Linked DNA regions of Homo sapiens: region 2 is linked to region 1. Evidence: promoter capture Hi-C in 16 types of primary human blood cells and fetal thymus (Javierre and others, 2016). All regions are on one chromosome and are shown on one strand. Each heading gives the region's core, a stretch centred on a gene start or on the middle of the fragment in contact. The rest is flanking DNA. Distances are from core to core; before and after follow the strand shown.

Region 1 (4,653 bases), core at 1,222-3,721:
TTCTAATATCTTCCACTGAGAATAATCATCAACAATCCTTCTGAAGTGTCATGACAATTCAGCAAAAAGTGTTGGGAAGTAAGCTGATAACTGAATAAGTATACACTCAAAAAAAAGTTTGTGTTTTTTTTATATTAAAAAAAAAAAGAGGCCAGGCACTGTGGCCTCATGTCTGTAATCCCAGCACTTTAGGAGGCTGAGACGGGAGGATCGCTTGAGGCCAGGAGTTCCAGACCAGCCTAGTCAACATAGCGAGACTTCATCTCTATTTTATTTAGGGAAAAAAAAAAAAAAAAAAAAAAGAGCTCTGGAGAGAAACGATAATGTGATGGCCGTAACAACCACCCCTGGAAAACAGCCTACATTCTACTTTGACACAAGTAATGTCAGAGGCAGAGATGACATTCTGCCTAAAGAGTCTTAGAATTACTTCTAAAGGTTATCTACACAAAAATTATACTCGGCTTTGGAAATAAGAAGATAAAAATTCCCATGAAAACACTTAGCAAGTGTAGTCTCTGAAATATAAACCCAATCATATAGTTAACCCTAATAATTACATAATGACACTAGGGCCCTGAAAAAATTATCTTATAACTCTCACTCTTTAGCAGCTTAACAACGCTTTAAAATATAAATTAGGACTCTTTCCTGAGTGGTAATCAGTCCTATTAACCTACCTACCCAAAGCCTTCTGATATATCACCAATACTTCACCATTTCTAATTAAGGCTACTAATATATGCAGACCTACTACAAACTATCAGAAGCCAGTCAGTAAAGGCCGGACGTGGCTGCTCACACCTGTGATCCCAGCACTTTGGGAGGCCGAGGCAGGAGAATCCCTTGAGCCTGGGAGGCGGAGACTGCAGTAAGCCGAGATCACACCACTTCACTCCAGCCTGGGCGAGGGAGGGAGACCCCCGCCCGGTGGCTCACGCCTGTAATCCCAGCACCTTGGGAGGCCGAGGCGGGTGAATCGCCTGAGGTCAGGAATTCAAAACCAGCTTCGCTAACATGGTGAAACCCCGTCTCCCCTAAAAATACAAAAATTAGCCGAGTGTGGTGTCGCGCGCCTGCAATCTAGCTACTCAGGAGGCTGAGGCAGGAGAATCGCCTGAACCCTGGGAGGCGGAGGTTGCAGTCGGAGGAGATCGCGCCACTGCACTCCAACCTGGGGGACAGAGCGAGACTCTGTCTCTCAAAAAAAAAAAAAAAAAAAACTGGCAATGTAATAATTTAGGAAAGCTGAATATTGGAAATGTTAGCTTCTATCAACAAAGATTTCTTGTTCAATTTTTGACCAACACGCTTAAAGGAAAACCAGAGCAGGATCCAGAAAGCAGAAAAAGGGAGAACACAGGAAATTAGCCTTGCTCCACAGAAGAGATTTAACCTACACAATCTTTGTCACAAACACAAAAGAAAGAACATTTTTTGTAAGAAAACTGACAGAGTGGGAGTTTTGGAGTGCCAAAAAAGGGGCTCAAATAAATCAGAAATAAGTACATTATACCAAGCGACTACCTCTATTGTCAACACTGGACATATTTTACAACACAGGATGCACTGCGTCAATAGTAGATAATGAATCATGTATACACATCAGATACACACGAATAACTTGCTTTATACAGAATTCTAGCACTTCTTATATTTCTTGACTGTCTTAGGAATAACCTCTGATTGGGCAGAAAACCCCTAAGTCCTAAAAGTTTCCAACACATTCCATTCTCATCCTTTTGTTGGGAACATTCTAAGCAAAGGGTAAACACTAATTGGGAAATAATGCTCCTCCTCAAGAAACTCCAAAACCTAAGTTGAAATGGAATCGTCTCAAATAGCAGAGGCAAGCATTTAAAAAGACAAACACTTATTTGAACCCCCACGGTTGGTATCGTTTCTGCAGCTCATGAACTTTCTTTTCCAGCCTACGGATGCGCCTCTGACAAACTCAGAACTCATGCACTCAGAGGGAAAAGTAACTGTACTCTTCCCCTCCTAATTAAGTTCAGGCGTAAGGGTCGAGAGAGAGGCAAAGGAACTTCAAATGTTTCCAAGGAAATCTCAAGGGCCCCACCCGGCTTCCGTCCCCACTCGCCAGACAAGGCAGCCGGGGAATAGGGAGGACAAGCTAATTCTAAAGCCAGATTCTCTGCCCTTCCTTGCTCAGCCGGCAGCCAGGCCCTAGCCCCCGACTGCGGAGCCCTGGTTCTCACTTTCACCTCAGCTCTGGCCCTGGAGCTCCCCATACCGGCCTCCTTCCCATGCTGAGCCCCAGCCGGCCAAGCTCCAGGCCCCCTCCCTTACCTGCGCCTCCTGCCCCGGCCGCGCCGGCTGCCCCCCGCCCCAGCCTCCGCTTCAACGGCTCAGCCCCCGGAAGTCGGCCCCCGAGAGCGGCGGTGGGCTCCTCAGGCCGCGGACGGTTGCGGCAGGAAGCGAAGCTGCTTACATGGTTGATGCGGCTTCTCGCTTCCCCCCCCCAAGACTCCGCCCTCTGTTTTCCTGTCCCCCAGTCCGAAATCTTTCCCGGGGGCCGGCTCCTCCCAGCCCGGCCGACGCTCGGATCAGATGCTCAGGCAGAAGGAGTCCAGCCCAGATCGAGTCGTCCTGATCTTTTGGCCGAGATTAGGCCGCTTCAGCCTTCCTGGAAGAAGCCAGGGGGACTGCGCGCGTGAGCGTCACGCATGCGGGGTCAACGGATGGGTGCTTGGTGCTCTGGGCACTGCAGGGGTGCTGGCTGGACTGCGGTTACCGTATGTGTTCGATACTGTGGGCACTCATAATATGTTATTGCTTTGTTGTAGACAGTTCACTCGTGTAGCACTGAACCGGAGTTAGCGATGACTCTGTTTCCAGACTTGCATGACTCCACCAATAACCAGCCATATGATCTTAAGCAAATTGCTCATTTATTTAGGCCTTAGACCTCTGGTGTGTAAAGTCGGATTAATAAAAGGACTCACTTCTTAATACTTTTTTGAGATTAAGTAAATGCACTTAAAGCGAATGGCACAGTTCCCTGACCCAGAGTAAGTGATGTCGGCTTTATAGTTAATTTTTTCATTTAGGTGTTGTGTTGCAAATGCTGATGCAAATAAAGTTACCAAGCCCAAGCCCTATCTTGTTCAGCTTGGCTAGAGTTATTCGTCATTTCTGTCCTGCTGAGAGCGCAGTGCAGTTAACTGCAGAAAACATGCTCGCCGCAGTTGTGGGGCTTGGTAGGGGAGGATGGAAAGCAGACGAAACCTAAAGGGAAATGCAGTTTTAAATTCTGTGAGTCCTTTTCCTCAAGAGTTTTGTCAAATCCCAGCCCAGTTTTCCTGGAGTTGGAAAGCACCATCGAAACCTGCAGGTTGAGTCCAGTGCAAATCCCAGTCACCATCCTCAGCTGGGCCCTTCAGCAATCTTTCTGGGAGTCTGTAGTCAGCTTCTCCCATTCCTTATTACTGCTGCGTCAGACCACCACCACGACCCCCACATTACCTTGACCATCATTCTCATCAGAGAATCATATTTTATACCCACGTGAAAAATCCCAAGGTATCTGGGCGTGACCCTTAACAAGCTAATTCCCCACACACCACAACATTTACCTACATCCACATCTGCCCTGGTCTGCCTTTCTCCCTCATCTCTCTGAGGAAGGGGCCTCTTCTTCCCCAGCTCAATCCTTTTGGCCCCCAATTCACCCTCTCCTGTCTGGGAGCTTGCACCGTATCTGCAACCTCCCCTTTTCCAATGACTCTGCCTCCTCAGCCCATAAAGATGCTCAAGTCTCTGCCTTCCTTTAAAAAAATTTTTTTTAAAAATTTAAGATAAGCAAAAAAGGCCCTCGTAATTATCACCCTATGTTAATATTTCATAAACCTACAATAAAGTATGAAATAGGTACAGAGATCATATGAAAAGAATAAATTGCCCAGCCACGACGACTGCAGTGTATGTAGAAACTCCATCTATGGTTTAAAAAAAAAAAAAAAAAGTGCACTCCGCAAATATTTTTGAGTCCCTAATTTAACCTGCAGTGTGTTAGTTATAGAAGCACTACACTAAGGATAGAATTATGAACGTATCCCACTGCTTCACTTGACTAGCCTAAAAAATAAAAATATATGTGAACATTACACAGTCCATGTCCTCAAGAAGCTTACCGTCTAATATCTATATTAGCTTACAGTTTAATTTCTGTGGAAAAGAGATTGAAAACTGGGCTACTGTTTTTGCAAAAGAAATCATTTTAGATTCTCACTTCACACTAGACATCCAAAATTAATTCCAGATGAATTTTATCTGTAGAGAGATTATTTGTCTGTGTATATATCCTCCTCAAAAACTTTCATTCAAGCACAGATTTAGGATTCTTGCTGAATCAATTATTGTTCGATGATATTATACTTCTATTCCTCTGTATGTATTAGTTGAATTTTACTGCAACTAATAGCGTTCCATCTTTTTCTTTCTTTCTTTATATTGGTTAGTATGACTTTGGACTCATTTTTTTCCAACATGTTATAGTTCATTACTGCCACTATTCATTTCTGTGCTCCAGGTGTCCCCGCCTTGGCTGGTGTGAGCCCCTTCCAGCAGACTCCTGAGTCCATTTGACATGCCTCCATTACCTTTTGAGCACATCTTACTTTTTGTTCTTTT
Region 2 (4,275 bases), core at 1,028-3,527, 1.1 Mb after region 1:
GTAACACACACAAAATAAGTTCACTTGAGTCTCAAGTACCAAATTATATGGTTGGTCTTGCCTCACCTTTTGCCTCTAGTTTTCTATACCCAAGTTCCTTTCCTTCCCCTATTATTCATGAACATGTTTTTTGCCCTAGTGTTTCTCAATGGTTCCTGCCCATCCCCCCAGTTGAAATAGCATGGGGGTCAGGGGAGAGCATGGAGAAGGGGAGACCTTGTAACAAACTAGCAAGGGGTTTCTACCTTTCCTCTATCTCCAAGATTCTATTAATAGTATATTCTCCTAAAGGTCCTATTAGTTTACATAGCTCAAGTGGGGAGACAATGATAGCTAATATTTAGTATTCACCTAATAGTGTCAGATACTATGCTAGGTGAGTTACCAAAGATATTTTGACTCTTCATAACAACTAGACAACGCGGATCCCACTATTTCTGTTTCTGAGATGGGTAGATACAAGTTCTGACCCAGTAATTCGCTCAAAGTCGTGCAGCTAGTTAGCTGGCAGCGTCCTTGCACATCTAATTGCAGATGCATCTGCATCTACATTAGAGTAAATGTTCCAATTATACTCATACAATGAATGCTATGAATCTGGCCAACAGAATTCCAGACACTAACAAGTAAATAAATCAGGCTTTCCTCAATCCCAGTAATTCATGTTTAATATTCCTTGGCAAATACTGAATTTCAATCTGTGCTTATTTCATAGAGTAGAATCTTTCAAATGTTGTGTTATCGAGTCCTACATAGTCAAAGGGAGGGGAAAGACAAGGAGGGTGATTAAGGTGAAGCGTTTCTTCCATTACTGGTAGAACGAAGTTTCTCATCTCTTAAGCACCGAATTCTGCAATCATTCCAAAAGTGGAAGCTCAGCTCACAGCGCATTTTGGGGAAGCTTAAACCACACTAACCATTTAAGGTCAAGCAAACAATTGGCCAACCCTAACGTGAATTGTGCAGGGTTTTCATCTCAGATGTAACAGATCTCTCTATGTCTACATCCCAACTCCAGAAAACGAGAAATCGAGTTCCTCCTCTCACCATCGAAGCTCTGCAGACACCTCGCTGGAGACCCCATGGTGAGCCTCATCACGTAAAGGCCCCCTCGCAAGCTGCCGGCTCCAGCTTGCGCCCCACGTCTACCTAGGCTCCCTCTAGCCTCTTTAACGCACAGTCGAGCAACAGGCCCCTTGCAATCAACTCTAGCCGCCGGACTCCCGACCAGGTCTCTCGCTCGGGGTCAGAAGGAGGCGCGGGAGGGAGGGCGGCGGCGGCGGCGCCCGCGGGGCGGGGCGGGGACTGTGCGCAAGCGGGGGGCGGGCGCAGGCCGCGGTCTCGCTCCGCTCCCCTTTGTTCTCTCCCATTGTGTGGCACTTCCTCCTCAGGCGCTTCTTCTCTGCACCCTGGCAGCCCGTGGGGAGTTCGGGAAGGGGCCCTGGATGCCTTTTCTGCTTGTTTTTGAGTACGTGAGGACCTCCCCGGCACCGCCTCGCGCGGGTCCCTGCCCCGTGCCCAGGCGGAGGCGGGGTGGCCACTGTCCTTCCTTCCCGCTCCGCGCCCTCGGCGGCTTCCCCGCGGCCCCCTGCGCCGCGCCCCCTCCAGGAGGCGTCCTGACCCCGCACTCCGGCCTTTCACCTCCCGACCGTCAGCCTCAGGGCCGCCGCGGCGACGCGCGACCCCTTCCCTCTGAGGGGCGCGGGCTCCGGACGCGCCGGGCTCTGCCAGGCATCTAGTGGAGGGTCGGAGGTCGGCGACCAGCCCGAGCCCAGCCGTCCCGGGAGCTGGCGCGAGTGTCGCCACGACCCTCCCTGTCCCTTGCGCTCGCGCTGCCCGGCCGCCGGGCGGCCGCCTCAGCCCCCTTATATAGCCCTCTAAAAATAGCTCGCCTCGCACCGCCTTGTAAGGCAGCAGGGAGATCCGCAGCGTGCCAATCCGCGCCCGCCGCCAGGGCCAAGCCCCGCCCCAGGCTCTGCTCCGGGCTCCCCATTGGTCCTCAGTGACTTCATGAGCCCCCTGTTTACCTTACATGGTCACACGCGGCCTAATGGACGCCCTCCTCGAGATCCCACGGCTGCGCGGAGAACCGAACGGAGGGAGGGAGTTTGGGGAGGGGGAAGAGCAGGAGGAGGAGAAAAGGGAGGGGGAAGACTACAAACTAGCAAGGATGGGGTGGGGGGTGGGGAGGGAAGGGAAGGGGGGGGAAGAGAAGCGATCGCGAGAGAAAAAAATGCAACCTCCCAAAATAAAGAGCAAAGATTGCATTAGGAGCGAACAGCGCTGCAGAAATAGATGGCAGCTTCGTGTCAGTGAGTTTGCATCCCCCTTCCTGATCCACGAGCTGGAGTGATTAGAGCCCTGGAAGGGAATTGTTACTCCCGTGGAGAAGTCCCCTTTTCCTGGCAGTCGTCTGCACTGTACACGCTGGATGCCTCTCTCCATCCACCCCACTCACTCGCTCCTCTCTCACCTCCTCTCTCCCTCTCCTGCATTGATTTTTTTTTTTCCTTTTTAGTTGACTGAAACAAAACAAAACAAAAGGGCCACTGGATGTCTGCCTTCTTGGGGGGTGAGCCAGACAGACTGACAAACAAACAGCCCCAACTGTGTTCGGGGGAGGGTTTCGCCTCCCGTTTTGCCCGGCAGCAGCAGCATGGACGTGTTGGCTAGTTATAGTATATTCCAGGAGCTACAACTTGTCCACGACACCGGCTACTTCTCAGCTTTACCATCCCTGGAGGAGACCTGGCAGCAGGTGAATGATTTAAATTACTTGTGTAAATCGTGTGGTGGCGGCGGAGACGCAGGGGCTGCGTTGGTGTGGGCTCTGGGTTGAAATTTTTGTTTGTTTGTTTGACTTTTTTTTCTTCCTTTTTGGCTGTCTGTTGTTGAAAATGTTTTCTGAAACAGTCATCTGCGCTTACCTCTCCACCCACCCCTAACCTCGTAGAGTGCCGAGCTGAGCAGCCGGTGCGAGCTGCCTGCGTTTCAGTCGCCAACACACATCCCTGCGCACACGTTGTCGGGTTTGCTGTCCCCTATCAGAGACCTGCCGAACTTCTGGGGTTCGGAGGAGCCGGGTGGGAAGGTGGTTTGGGGTGTTAGGAGCGATTGCTGACAGGGACCACGTTCTCGCATGCATGAGCTCTACCCACTTGATACCTGAAATCAGGTTCATCTGTTTCAACTGGTGCTTATGACCATCGGATGGGGGGCGGGGGAGGGTGGGCAGGAGCAAAGCGGAGTGTTTTTCAGTAATTAGCGAGTGTCAATAAAGAATAGGAGCTTGATTTTGAGATTAGAAGGTAGGCAAAAGAGAGAAGAGCCCACTGACAAAAGATACTCAAGGAGGACGGGAAGATGTAGCTGAGGCTGACAATGAATTGTAGGTTTTCCCAGTGTGATCCCTCCAGAAAGAGAACACCCTCTATGCGTGTCCTTGTTTCTCTTTTTTGTTTAGGGTCCTTCTCTAGTTAGGCAGCACAACCTCGGACAAAGGCTGATGTGTGCTTCCATGCCTTTGACTTTGTCTTAGAGGACTAGTTAAGAAACTCCCAGGATGCTGAAGGGCACCGATGCCAAGTTGGCTAGCCGTCCCAGGGAGGATGAAGTGGGGCTGGTGACAAGTTCACTGGGCTTTGTGAAGTGGAATAAAGAAAGTGCTGGTCAGTGGAAAGTGCTGGCTCTGCTGCGGAAACAGTGGTTTTTTTCAGCAGCGATTAGGAGCTGCTGAGGGGACATTCTGCAGGAAAGATGGTGGGTGGGGGCGGGGGGACACGGGTATTTAAAAATTGTACAGTGTGCACCATGGAAAGTCCAAGAAGACAGTCCGGATTTGCACATAGGAAGTGTGAACTTGTACAGTCCGTCCTGGAGAAACCCGCTTGCCCTTGGGGGGAGGGCTGTGAGAGGCTCGGTGTGTGGCTGCTCGTGTAATTTCTTCGCTTAGTGACAGCAGCTTGTTAAGGCTAATGAACGGCTGAATTTCCTCTGCCGGGATCCAAAGCAGGATTTGCCAGCTTGAGGCTGAGATGTAACAGTCTCTGCTTTAGCAAAAGAGGTTTGGCTTTTGGTATAAGGAGCCGAGTGGCAAGGCGGATCCTTTAACTGTACCATTGTTGCTAGTTCACTTCTGGTCAGAGGCTGTGAGTTTTCCTCCAGGTATTGGCGTCTGGTGTCTCTGTGTCCACACATGCATTCTTGTCCAAGGACGCTAGCAGATGCTTGACTCTGTCTCTCTGTAAACACATACACAGTTCACATATTTTTAGA

What was found. The method cuts DNA at HindIII sites, captures the fragments that hold promoters and counts their contacts. A CHiCAGO score of 5 or more calls a contact.
Region 2: a contact is called between the fragment with the promoter of KLF7 here and the fragment with the promoter of PIKFYVE in region 1, in 5 of 17 cell types (fetal thymus, total B cells, non-activated CD4 T cells and 2 more). The highest score is 11.3, in fetal thymus.

The regions. Positions count from the first base shown.
Region 1 is chr2:208,264,073-208,268,725 of GRCh38, reverse strand. PIKFYVE (phosphoinositide kinase, FYVE-type zinc finger containing) reads right to left here and starts at 2,471. Exons shown (of 42, transcript NM_015040.4): 1 at 2,311-2,471. RefSeq lists a silencer at 2,185-2,454 and an enhancer at 2,585-2,634. The HindIII fragment of the contact is 8,601 bases long and covers 1-4,151 here.
Region 2 is chr2:207,163,950-207,168,224 of GRCh38, reverse strand. It overlaps KLF7 (KLF transcription factor 7), which reads left to right and starts at 2,277. Exons shown (of 4, transcript NM_003709.4): 1 at 2,277-2,758. The coding sequence starts at 2,657. It overlaps MIR7845 (microRNA 7845), which reads right to left and starts at 1,825; the gene lies at 1,727-1,825. RefSeq lists silencers at 766-815, 1,436-2,075 and enhancers at 433-1,141, 1,142-1,849, 1,850-2,558, 2,566-2,665, 3,267-3,975 and 1 more. The HindIII fragment of the contact is 8,010 bases long and covers 904-4,275 here.